4 separate regions of the Homo sapiens genome follow, and regions 2, 3 and 4 are each linked to region 1. Evidence: promoter capture Hi-C in human tissues and cell types (Jung and others, 2019). All regions are on one chromosome and are shown on one strand. The core of a region is centred on a gene start or on the middle of the fragment in contact, and the rest is flanking DNA. Distances in the headings are between cores, read along the strand shown. Region 1 holds the start of CBFA2T3 (CBFA2/RUNX1 partner transcriptional co-repressor 3). Region 2 has its middle 8.4 kb from the start of SLC22A31. Region 3 overlaps PIEZO1 (piezo type mechanosensitive ion channel component 1 (Er blood group)). Region 4 holds the start of LINC00304 (long intergenic non-protein coding RNA 304).

The links. The method cuts DNA at HindIII sites, captures the fragments that hold promoters and counts their contacts. A contact is called where the count stands out against the background at its distance.
Region 2: a fragment that was not itself captured here is called in contact with the fragment with the promoter of CBFA2T3 in region 1 in 2 of the 25 tissues and cell types used here (lymphoblastoid cells and spleen).
Region 3: a fragment that was not itself captured here is called in contact with the fragment with the promoter of CBFA2T3 in region 1 in 3 of the 25 tissues and cell types used here (H1 embryonic stem cells, dorsolateral prefrontal cortex and lymphoblastoid cells).
Region 4: a fragment that was not itself captured here is called in contact with the fragment with the promoter of CBFA2T3 in region 1 in 3 of the 25 tissues and cell types used here (IMR-90 fibroblasts, hippocampus and spleen).

Annotation. Positions count from the first base shown.
Region 1 is chr16:88,975,849-88,978,587 of GRCh38, reverse strand. CBFA2T3 (CBFA2/RUNX1 partner transcriptional co-repressor 3) reads left to right here and starts at 1,381. Exons shown (of 12, transcript NM_005187.6): 1 at 1,381-1,931. The coding sequence starts at 1,781. RefSeq lists enhancers at 960-1,009, 2,712-2,739. The HindIII fragment of the contact is 13,654 bases long and covers 1-2,739 here.
Region 2 is chr16:89,207,571-89,210,309 of GRCh38, reverse strand. No RefSeq gene overlaps it. Among named protein-coding and RNA genes, the nearest start is that of SLC22A31, 8.4 kb to the right of the region's middle. The HindIII fragment of the contact is 6,212 bases long and covers 1-2,739 here.
Region 3 is chr16:88,756,447-88,759,185 of GRCh38, reverse strand. All of the region lies in intron 1 of PIEZO1 (piezo type mechanosensitive ion channel component 1 (Er blood group)), which reads left to right. Among named protein-coding and RNA genes, the nearest start is that of PIEZO1-AS1, 15 kb to the right of the region's middle. The HindIII fragment of the contact is 9,363 bases long and covers 1-2,739 here.
Region 4 is chr16:89,156,682-89,159,420 of GRCh38, reverse strand. LINC00304 (long intergenic non-protein coding RNA 304) reads right to left here and starts at 201. Exons shown (of 4, transcript NR_024347.2): 1 at 31-201. RefSeq lists an enhancer at 136-305. The HindIII fragment of the contact is 4,775 bases long and covers 1-2,739 here.

The sequences.
Region 1 (2,739 bases), core at 132-2,631:
GGATCGTGCACCCTGCACAAATGAGGAAACCAGGAGGGTCAGGGCCCCCAGGACCCTCACTGTGAATCCCACCCTGAGCCAGAGCACAGGGAACAGCAGGGGACGTGGGGACCGAATGATGGCACCAGGGGATGGGCCCCGGGCTGGCAGGAATGTCCCCTCCAGCCTCAGTCCTGGGGGCAGAACGGCCGACCACCCAGGGCAGGGGAGGCCCCGGGTGGGCCTGGCGTCTGGGAAGTTCCCCAGCAGGAACAAACACATCCCCACTGTAAGCTGGACACACACGCTGGCATGCAGCTTGTTGTCACCAACTCGAGAAAGACACTCGACTATTGGGACAGGGAGACCCGGGACACCTGGAGACCCTGCGGGGAAGGAGTCGGCTTTTACTCCTGCACGGCTTGAATTATTAACTGCGTGCAAACGTGACCTAAAACTCAAATCAAATCAAATCAAAATAGCACAGATGCCCGTGAGCCGGCCCTGGGTCTGCGGGCTCCACACCTCTGGCCTGTCTGAGGCCGGGAAACCTCCAGCCATGGCATCAGAAAAGCCACCGAACCAGGGCTGCAGGGCCGAAGGGTCACTGTCCCCTCCCAGGAAGCTCCTGCCCTCTGACAGTTGTCAGGGAGCTTTAGAAAGTGGCTTTTTTTCCCAGCATCTGGGATGTGCCTCACTCTCTCAGCCCAACGGCCGCTAGAAAGGGGTCCTAGGACTCTCCCTAGGGTCTAAGTAGTCCCAAGAGTGCTCTGAGGTGGCTTCTGGAATTTCCCAGACTGGAGAAGCCACCTACCCCCGACCCCCGCAAACTCCAGGCTGCTCACCGGAGGCGGCCGCTGGGGCGTGGGGTGAGGGTCTTTCTGAGGCACCCCCGGAGAGTGGGGGAGCCCTGCTGTCTCCACAGAGGGCCAGGAGCCCTGTGCACGAGGCCAAGCAGAGAGAGAGGGTTTCCTTCCCAGCAGGCGGGAGGTACTTTGAGGACAGGTCAGGTGCCCAAGAACCCCGGAGCAGGGGCTGAGGAGAGGCTGGTCAGAGGCCCCGCCTTGCTCAAGGGCACAGTCAGCAGACACAGGAACACGGGCAGGGTGGCCCCTGGAGCGGGGGCAAACTAAAAGGGGTGCTGGGGAAAGCTCGGCTGACTGAGGGCTAGCGGAGAGGGAGGACACCCCCAGATACCCCAGGCTGAAGGAAGGGCCAAGCCCTGGGGGGAAGATGGGTGGGCGGGACAGGCCAAGGGCTCTGGGCCAGGATGGAGCTGCCCTCAGGCCTGCACACCTGCCCTGGGGCCGAGGAAACACATGCCCAGTGGCCACGCTGTAGGGCTCAGGGTGGGTGGGACGTCACCAGAGCTGCCTGGGAGGAGGAAGTTGTTGGAAGGTCAAACCGGAATGGCCCGAGGGAAGGCCGCGCAGGGCAGGGCCCCAGATGGTTCCTGTCAGGGAAGTGGCGGGCGCAGCTGCAGGCCTCCGGCCCCGGCATTATCACGGGGACACAGCTGGCTGCCTCACCCGCAGGCTGCAGGGAGACCTTCCCCAGCCTGCAGCCCCAGGCCCGCCCCGCGTCACATGAGCCCCAGGGCTCCCACCCCCTCCCCAGGGCAGAGGACACCCAGTTGGTGGCCGGGAGGGCCTCGGCTTTCCAGGGACAGAGGCCCAACTCCAGGACGCCCCAGCTGGCCCAGCCCCTCCTCTTTCCCTCAAGGCTGCAGGAGGTCGGGAAAGGCAGTCCTGGTAGAGGCCTGTCCTGGGCTCCAGGTTGGCCCCTGAGGGTGGCCCTCCTCATGCCGGCTTCAAGACTGAGGGACAGGGCAGCCAGTTCAGCCTCGGGATCCACCTGTGGCTCCATGTCCCAGACGCACCCTGTGCTGGAGAGCGGCCTCCTGGCATCTGCCGGCTGCTCCGCACCCCGGGGTCCCAGGAAGGGCGGCCCAGGTAAGAGGCTCGAGGGGAAGGTGGTGGGGTGGGGGCAGAGAGCGGCAGCCGGTGCCGGGGCTGTGACTCCTTAGAGCTTCGCGGGGCCTGCCCAGCTTAGTTGACAGTGCCGGCACGGATGGCCGTGTTGACTCACCTCAGATATCAACAGGGCCACCCCACAGGCAGGTCCTGCACAGCTGGGGCAGGTGGGCTGGTGAGGGTTTGGCAGGTGCCAGCCAGGTGCCCCAGCCCCACCCAGAGGCAGATGCTGGAGGCCGGGCTGCTCAGCCCCGTCTAGGAGGGTGGGCTGTGTTCTCCTGGGGGTGGGAGGGCCGCAGCCGGGAAGTGATGGGGGGGTCCTAGAAAGAGAGCCCTCCTCCTCCTGGGATGCCCTCCGGGTGTGACACCTCACAGCAGGTTGGATGAGGAAACTGAGGCCAGAGGGGAGGGCACTGGCCCAAGACCCCGGTGAGGAGGAAATGGACCCAACCCTGGGCCCCTGTCCGAGGAACGATTCCAGCCAGGGCAGTGGGGGTTTACGGGGAACCTGGGCCTGCCCTTCTGGGGGCTTCGGGCTCTGGGGAGGGGTCCAGTCCAGCAGGACGCCAGCTATTGCTGATACCCCCCACCCGAGCCTGCGAAGTCCCAGGACAAGGATCCCCGGACGCTGGGGGCTGCAGCTGCAGGCTGGTGGCCCCGATTCCCAGTGGCCCTCGTGGCCACACTCCCAGCAGCCGTCGGAACCTTCAGGAGCTCACAGTCTCCCGTCTCGCGGGGCTCTCACTGAGGCCGTCAGGTCCAAGGTCTGACTGCACCCCTGACACTC
Region 2 (2,739 bases), core at 114-2,613, 230 kb before region 1:
TTTCTAGAGTTTCTGGAGTTTCCAGAACCATGTAAGGTCACTTTCGGTCATCGCCATGGCATGTGGCCATGGTACTTGATCTTCTTTGGGTGTGTGGTCTTATTTCTTTCGTTCATTTGTTTAGTTTATGGGTGCCCTTTTATTTATCAGCCAATCTGATAGCATGCTAGACATAACACACATCACATAAGCAAAGCAACCTAAATAAGAGAGCTGGATCCAAGTTATTTACAAAATTGGGACCTCTCTACCTGGCTAAACTTTGTTTGCTCTAATGGGTGTGGAATACAGGGTGAGGCAGGGAAGGGGATCTCAGAGCAGCAAATAAGGAAGGGCGGGGGTGATCCTGGCTCACCCAATATTGGCAGAACACACAGCAGGGACACTTACCTGTCCACAGGAGCCAAAATGGCACTGCCCGGTCTCCCCCAGGTCTCCCTGGTTTGGAGGGGTTCAGCCATTAGGAGGGGAGCAGCGTGTGGTTCTGCAACCAGCCGATCGGAGCAGTGGGTCTCACACGAGGTGGTGCTGTGGCTACTTGCCTGTCCACTCGGCTCCGCCACCTGTCAGGAAAGACGATGGCCCCTGAAAGAGCCTGTGGCTAGTGTCACAGGTCTGCAGTGTCACAGCGTTCCACTGTCCCAGCCGTGATATTTGCAGCTTTGATGGCCATGGCACTGGTCACTGTCTCTCACTGACCCGCCACCTTGCGTCATTTGCTGCCCTGCCAATCACCGCCTCTCTGCCTCTCACTGTCTTCTCTTCATCCCTTTGTGGCCGCCAAGGTGATGTAGGGCAGCTGAGCCCCAAAATTGCAGCTTGGCCCAGGAGGGTCCTTGACTTCACCCCAGAAAGTATGCGAGGGCGAGGCAGCGGTGGAAGAGGCGGCTTTACTGAGCAGCCATGCACAGAGAGTGGCTGCTCCATGTACAGAGAGTGGCTGCTCCATGCACAGAGAGTGGCTGCTCCATGTACAGAGAGTGGCTGCTCCATGTACAGAGAGTGGCTGCTCCATGCACAGAGAGTGGCTGCTCCATGTACAGAGAGTGGCTGCTCCATGCACAGAGAGTGGCTGCTCCATGTACAGAGAGTGGCTGCTCCTTGCAGAGCAAGTCCAATCAACAGGCAGGGCACCCAGAGCAGCCACTTGGAGGCTGCTGGCAGCTGTATTTACCCATATTTAATGACACACAAATTAAAGAGGTTATTGGCCGGGCGCGGTGGCTCACGCCTGTAATCCCAGCACTTTGGGAGGCCAAGGAGGGCGGATCACGAGGTCAGGAGATCGAGACCATCCTGGCTAACACAGTGAGACCCCTGTCTCTAGTACAAAATACAAAAAATTAGCCCGGCGTGGTGGCAGGCGCCTGTAGTCCCAGCTACTCGGGAGGCTGAGGCAGGAGAATGGCACGAACCCGGCAGGCGGAGCTTGCAGTGAGCTGAGATAGTGCCACCGCACTCCAGCCTGGCGACAGAGCGAGACTCCATCTCAAAAATAAATAAATAAATAAATAAATAAATAAATAAATAAATAAATAAATAAATAATAAGTAACCTCTTTATTTTATTTTTTGAGACCAAGTCTCGCACTGTTGCCCAGTTTGGAGTGTACTGGCGTGATCTTGGCTCACTGCAGCCTCCGCCTCCCAGGTTCAAGAGATTTGCTTGCCTGGGTGTTCGGTGGCTCACGCCTGTAATCCCAGCACTTCAGGAGGCCGAGGTGGGCAGATCACAAGGTCAGGAGTTCAAGACCAGCCTGGCCAAGATGGTAAAACCCCATCTCTACTAAAAATACGAAAATTAGCTGGGCGTGGTGGAGCACGCCTGTAATCCCAGCTACTTGGGAGGCTGAGGCAAGAGAATCACTTGAACCCAGGAGGCAGAGGTTACAGTGAGCCGAGATCACGCCACTGCACTCCAGCCTGGGTGACAGAGCGAGACTCCATCTCAAGACAAAACAAAAAAAAACAAAAACAGAAATATCTCAAATCAACTTAAACAACCAGAAAGGAACAACCTAAACCCAAAGCTAGTAGAAATAAGAAAATAATAAAAGATTAGAACAAAAATAACAGAAATGAAAAATAGAGGATGAAACCAAAAGTTGATTTTTTGCAAAGATCAACAAAATTGACAAACTTTTTGCTAAATGGACTAAGAAAAAAGAGAACACTCAAGTTACCAATAGTAGAAATCCAAGTGGGGACATTACCACTGATTCTACAGAAATAAAAAGACCGCAAGAGAGTGTTATGAAAAAAGTCGTACACAAATTGTATAACCCAGATGAAATGAACACATTCCCAGACACGCTAAACATACCAAGACTAAATCAGGAAGAAGTTAGAAATCTGAGTGGACCTGTAAGTAGTATGGAAGTAGAATCACTAGTCAAAATTCTGATAAAGAAAAGCCCTGGTGGGCACCGTGCCCACACCTGTGATCCCAGCACTGGGGGAGGCCGAGACGGGCGGATCATGCGAGGTCAGGAGTTCAAAGCCAGCCTGGCCAACATGGTGAAACCCCATTTCTACTAAAAATACAAGAAAATTAGTTAGGCATGGTGGCACACGTCTATAGTCCCAGCTACTCGGGAAGCTGAGGCAGGAGAACTGCTTGAACCTGGGAGGCAGAGGTTGAAGTGAGCTGAGATCATGCCACTGCACTCCAGCCTGGGCGACAGAGTGAAGCTGCGTCTCAAAAAAAAAAAGAAAAGCTCTAGACCTGATGCCTTCACTA
Region 3 (2,739 bases), core at 76-2,575, 220 kb after region 1:
TCTGTTTCCTTTGATGAGAGGAAGGTTGGACCAAGCGACCTGCCCTGCTTCTGTCTGTTTCCTCCAGTCCTTTTCCTTTTTGACCAGTTCACTTGTTGATAACTCCAGCAACGCATGAAAACATTCCCCTTGTAAAAAAGGGAAATGCCGTGGGTAGGGGGGACCAAGGACCTCTTCTGCAGGAGCAGACGCAACAGCTTGGTGTGGATCTTCCTCAGCCTTTTTGTCCATCCTAGACATGTGGAATTTCAGTTTTACACAAAAGGAATGGTAGGCGTCTGACTCTCTGTGGCTTGTATCACTTGGCAGTGCCACAGGGATTGGTGCATGTTTGCTCTCTCATGCTATGTGTCAGGCACTGTTGTCTCTGCGACAATCCTGTGAGGAGGGAGTTATGGTTCTTGATTTATAGACGAACAAACTAAGACAGAGGAGATTGGGCTCATCTGTGGTCATCTCAGCAGTTGTGAGAGGTCAGGGCCAGAGCCCAGTGGTGTCATTCTGCAGGGCACATACAGACACGACCCACAGGGTTCTGCCGCACCCCCTGCCGCTTGGCCTGCTCTGCAGGTGGGTGCCGAGGCTGTTCCTGCATCTGCTGTGTCTTGTGAGTCCGTGGGTGCCTGTGGAGTGGGGGCAGTGGGTTTGCATTTCCAAGCACTGCCTCTGTCATAGGCTCAGGGAGAAGCAGTTACGCATGAGCTGCTATGAGCCACGGGTATGACTGGCATCACAGCAGGAGGAGCCCTGGGGATGGCTGAGTGACGATGGGTGGGGACAGAGCTCACAGAAGCCAGGGTTGCCCCCAGGCCAGGCCACTGCTGGGGCCAAGGCTGGGATGCAGCACGATGTTGGTCTGTCAGGGAGTGGCAGGAAGCCCACAGGGTCAGCTGACACTTAACCCAGAGTGGTGGGAGCCTTGAATGCCAGACTGAGGGCCACACAGTTGGTCTCGGTGCACAAGGACTTGGGCTGAGAGGGCTGTTGCTCCTCAATGGCCATCTCCTTGTGGGAGGAGAGTCCGGGCAGCCGCTTCCAGGAACCCACCCATGCTTGAAATAGTGGGACCACAGGGCTGAGGAGGCTCCTGGGGATTCCTCCCAGGATTCAGCTGCTCTGTCCCCAACCCCGGAGGGCCTATTCGTCTAGCCCTATATCCTCTCTGCCAGTTAGGTCAGGGCAGAGAAGTAGAGGCACAGAGGGTGGCGGAGGGGTGTCCAGCCAGGCCTTTCTGTGGCACCTTCTGAGGCTGGCTGGAGTCTGTGAAATCTGTGATAACTGGCCCAGACCCTTCCTGCCTCCTGGGGCATCTGCTGGAGCTGAGGCTGCTGGGGGAGTCTGCCTGTGACTTGAGTCTCTTGCTGGGCCATGCTGGGCTCAGTTCGCCTGTCTGTGGGGTGGGATGGTGCCACCCTTAGGTTGTTGGGAGGACCCAAGGAGAGTGATGCCTCCAGCCATGGCAGCTGGCCCAGCTCCGGCCCGCAGCCTGGCTCCTTCAGGGCCAGGAACCCCCAGGTCATGGACTCCAACCCTCGGGCTCTCCTGCTTCCCAGGTGACGAAGCTTCAACCCATGGGCTCTCCTTCCTGGGTGTGGAAGCCCTGGAGAAGGTGGAGATGGGATCTCAGTCCAGCCCATTGGCTCCACTTCCTTTGAGAAGCTCTTTCCCCCGTCTTGGCCCCCAGCCCTTGTTCAAGCACCTGTCCCTCTCCTGTCTCCTAGGCCCCGTCAGTCCTTTTGGAGACCTGTTCCCACCCGCCCCTGCTCTCACAGGCTGCCAGTGTCCACACACTCTCAGGCACTGTCATTGGAGCCTTTTAACCACACGGGAAAGCAGGCAGGTTAGGTAACTACCCCCCACCCCCCCGCCAGCAACGCCCCCTGCATACCCAGGGCCTGCACCAGGTGCTGCTGCGCTGCCAGCTCTCTCGAGGTCCCTCCTCCTAACCTCAATGCATCGCGTCTTCCAGCCCCCGGCTCCGAGGGCTCAGCCTCCAGGTGGTCTAACCTGGAGTCTAAACCTGGATTGCCATCTGCCTGCCTCAGCCCTTCCCTTCCCCAGGGACCGAGGGCCAGTGCGGCTCCCCAGCCACCCATTTTTTGTTTGTTTTGAGACGGAGTCTCGCTCTGTCGCCCAGGCTGGAGTGCAGTGTCCTGATCTCGGCTCACTGCAAGCTCCATCTCCTGGGTTCACGCCATTCTCCTGCCTCAGCCCCCCAAGTAGCTGGGACTACAGGTGCCCGCCACCACACCCGGCTACTTTTTTGTATTTTTAGTAGAGACAGGGTTTCACCATGTTGGCCAGGATGGTCTCGATCTCCTGACCTTCTGATCTGCCCGCCTCGGCCTCCCAAAGTGCTGGGATTACAGGCATGAGCCACTGCACCTGGCTTGTTTGTTTTTATTTTTATTGTTTTTTGAGACGGAATCTTGCTCTATTGCCCAGGCTGGAGTGCAGTGACATAATCTCAGCTCACTGCAACCTCCACCTCCCAGGTTCAAGCGATTCTCTTGCCTCAGCCTCCCAAGTAGCTGGGACTACAGGCACCCACCACCACACCCAGATACATTTTGTATTTTTAGTAGAGATGGGGTTTCACCATGTTGGCCAGGCTGGTTTCGAACTCCTGACCATGAGATGGCGGGCTTGAGCCATCTTCCCGCCTCGGCCTCCCAAAGTGCTGGGATTACAGGCGTGAGCCACGGTGCCCGGCCCCAGCCACCAGTTTTGTACAGCACT
Region 4 (2,739 bases), core at 148-2,647, 180 kb before region 1:
CCTTCCGTGCACCCGCCTGTGGGGACCTACGGGCTTCCTGCTCAGAGAGAGGCAGATGAGCCCCACGTTGCTACCGCGGTCGTCCATCCCGTGCTCTTGTCTGTGCCGGCAGCTGGCAGGAGATGCTGCGGCCGTCGTGCGTGATGGATCATGAGGTGCAGTCACGGATGTTTATCCTCCAGTGACCTCGTCTCTCTTGTGGCTGCTGAGGAGATGCACATGGGGCGTGATCATTCGTATTGATCAATTTGCTGCTCATTTGCCACGTCGTCAATGTTTTCACACAGGGTCCACTTTACTCTTCCAGGCAGGAAAGCGGCTGCACCGACCTGCGGCCAGGAAGAAGGGGACAGAATCGACTCCCAGGGGGTCTGGGGGGAGCAGGAGTCTGCTCTGGCTCAGGAAGGCTCTAGAAGGGCCACCAAGAGCAGCCGCAACAGTGCACAAGGACCTTGTGATGAGAGCTACCTGAGCGAGTCCCAACCTGATCAGACGCACCATGTAGGGGGAGCCGGGGCCCCATTGCAGCTGCCTCGGGGAAGCAGTGACCACAGGCCCGGCTGAACCTGATGGTGACGGGGAAGGGAGGGACTGGTGTGCACACAGGTGTCCATGTGCCTGTATGTATGCAGGTGTGTGTGTGACACACACATACATGTGATATACGCAGGCGTGTGAGATACACATACATGTGACATATGCAGGCGTGTGAGATACACATACATGTGATATATGCAGGCGTGTGTGAGACACATACCTGTGGTGTATGCAGCTGTGAGACACATACATGTGATATATGCAGGTGTGTGAGACACACACATGATAGATGCAGGCGTGTGAGGCATATATGTGTATGCAGGTGTGTGAGACACATACAAGTGATATATGCAGATGTGTGTGACATACATGTGGTGTATGCAGGCATGTGTGACACATATACATGTGATATATGCAGGCGTGTGTGAGACATACATACCTGTGGTGTATGCAGGCGTGTGAGATACACATACATGTGACATATGCAGGCGTGAGACATACATACCTGTGGTGTATGCAGGCGTGTGAGATACACATACATGTGACATATGCAGGCGTGTGAGATACACATACATGTGACATATGCAGGCGTGAGACATACATACCTGTGGTGTATGCAGGTGTGAGACACATACATGTGACTTATGCAGGCGTGTGAGACACATACATGTGACATATGCAGGCGTGTGAGACACACATACATGTGACATATGCAGGCGTGACATACATACCTGTGGTGTATGCAGGTGTGTGATACACATACATGTGACATATGCAGGCGTGTGACATATACGTGTGACATGCAGGCGTGTGAGATACACATACATGTGACATATGCAGGCGTGAGACATGCATACCTGTGGTGTATGCAGGCGTGTGAGACACATACATGTGACATGCAGGCATGTGAGATACACATACATGTGACATATGCAGGCGTGAGACATACATCCCTGTGGTGTATGCAGGCGTGTGAGATACACATACATGTGACACATGTAGGCGTGTGAGACACATGTGACATGCAGGCGTGTGACTTACATACCTGTGGTGTATGCAGGCGTGTGAGACACACATGCATGTGACTTATGCAGGCGTGTGAGACACACATACATGTGACATATGCAGGCGTGAGACATACATACCTGTGGTGTATGCAGGCGTGTGAGATACACATACATGTGACATATGCAGGCATGTGAGATACACATACATGTGACATGCAGGCGTGTGAGATACATACATGTGACATGCAGGCGTGAGACATACATACCTGTGGTGTATGCAGGCGTGAGACACACATGCATGTGACTTATGCAGGCGTGAGACACATACATGTGACATATGCAGGCGTGTGACATACATACCTGTGGTGTATGCAGGCGTGTGAGATACACATACATGTGACGTATGCAGGCATGTGACATACATACCTGTGGTCCACACCTGTCTGCACACGCCTCCTGTTACTGATGGTTAACTCAGTGGCTGGCACACTCACCACCTTCTCACTGTGGCTGGCAACAAGCTGCTGTTCTGCACCAGGACCTCCTCTCAGGCTCCCAGCAAAGGAGGCCGGCAGCTTTGACACGAGGGTCCGGGAGCCGTGGCTCCTCCAGGTTAGTGGTGCACACAGCGCTTGCCACACCGCCCACTGCCTCACTCCGTGCTGTGCCTGGTGCTGCGTGGGTCCTGAGGCTCCTGCTCCTGACCCTGGTGCCGCTGGGACAGAGTCCAGGTGGGAGGGCAGTGTGTGGTGTGTGTGTGGCCAGTCCCCAGGGACAGGACGCCCGAGGGAACAAAGCCCCCACCCCTTGGCCAGGGCTAGAAGGGCCCCGAGAGAGCAGCAGCCGCAGTTCACAGAGTAGGGAAACTGAGGCAGAGCAGGCTCAGGTCTTGTGTGTTGGGCCTGGACACCTGGCAGGAAGGCAGCCCCAAGGGCCGCTGTTGGGTGGGAACGTGGGGCCAGCTTGGCACTCCTGAGCTGCCTCAGGCCTGGCCTGTCTAGGCCTCAGTGGACCGGCCAGCCTAATGCCTGGGCTGCTGGCCTGGGCCCTATCTGTTAAACGAATGGAGGAGGCAGGAGCTGGGTCCATGGTCTCCCTGCCAGGGAAGCCGCAGGTGGAGGGAAGGCAGAGGGCGGCAGGGGCTTCACCCTGGCCCCTGATGAGGGAGGGGCAGAAAGAATGGGGCGGCACCTGC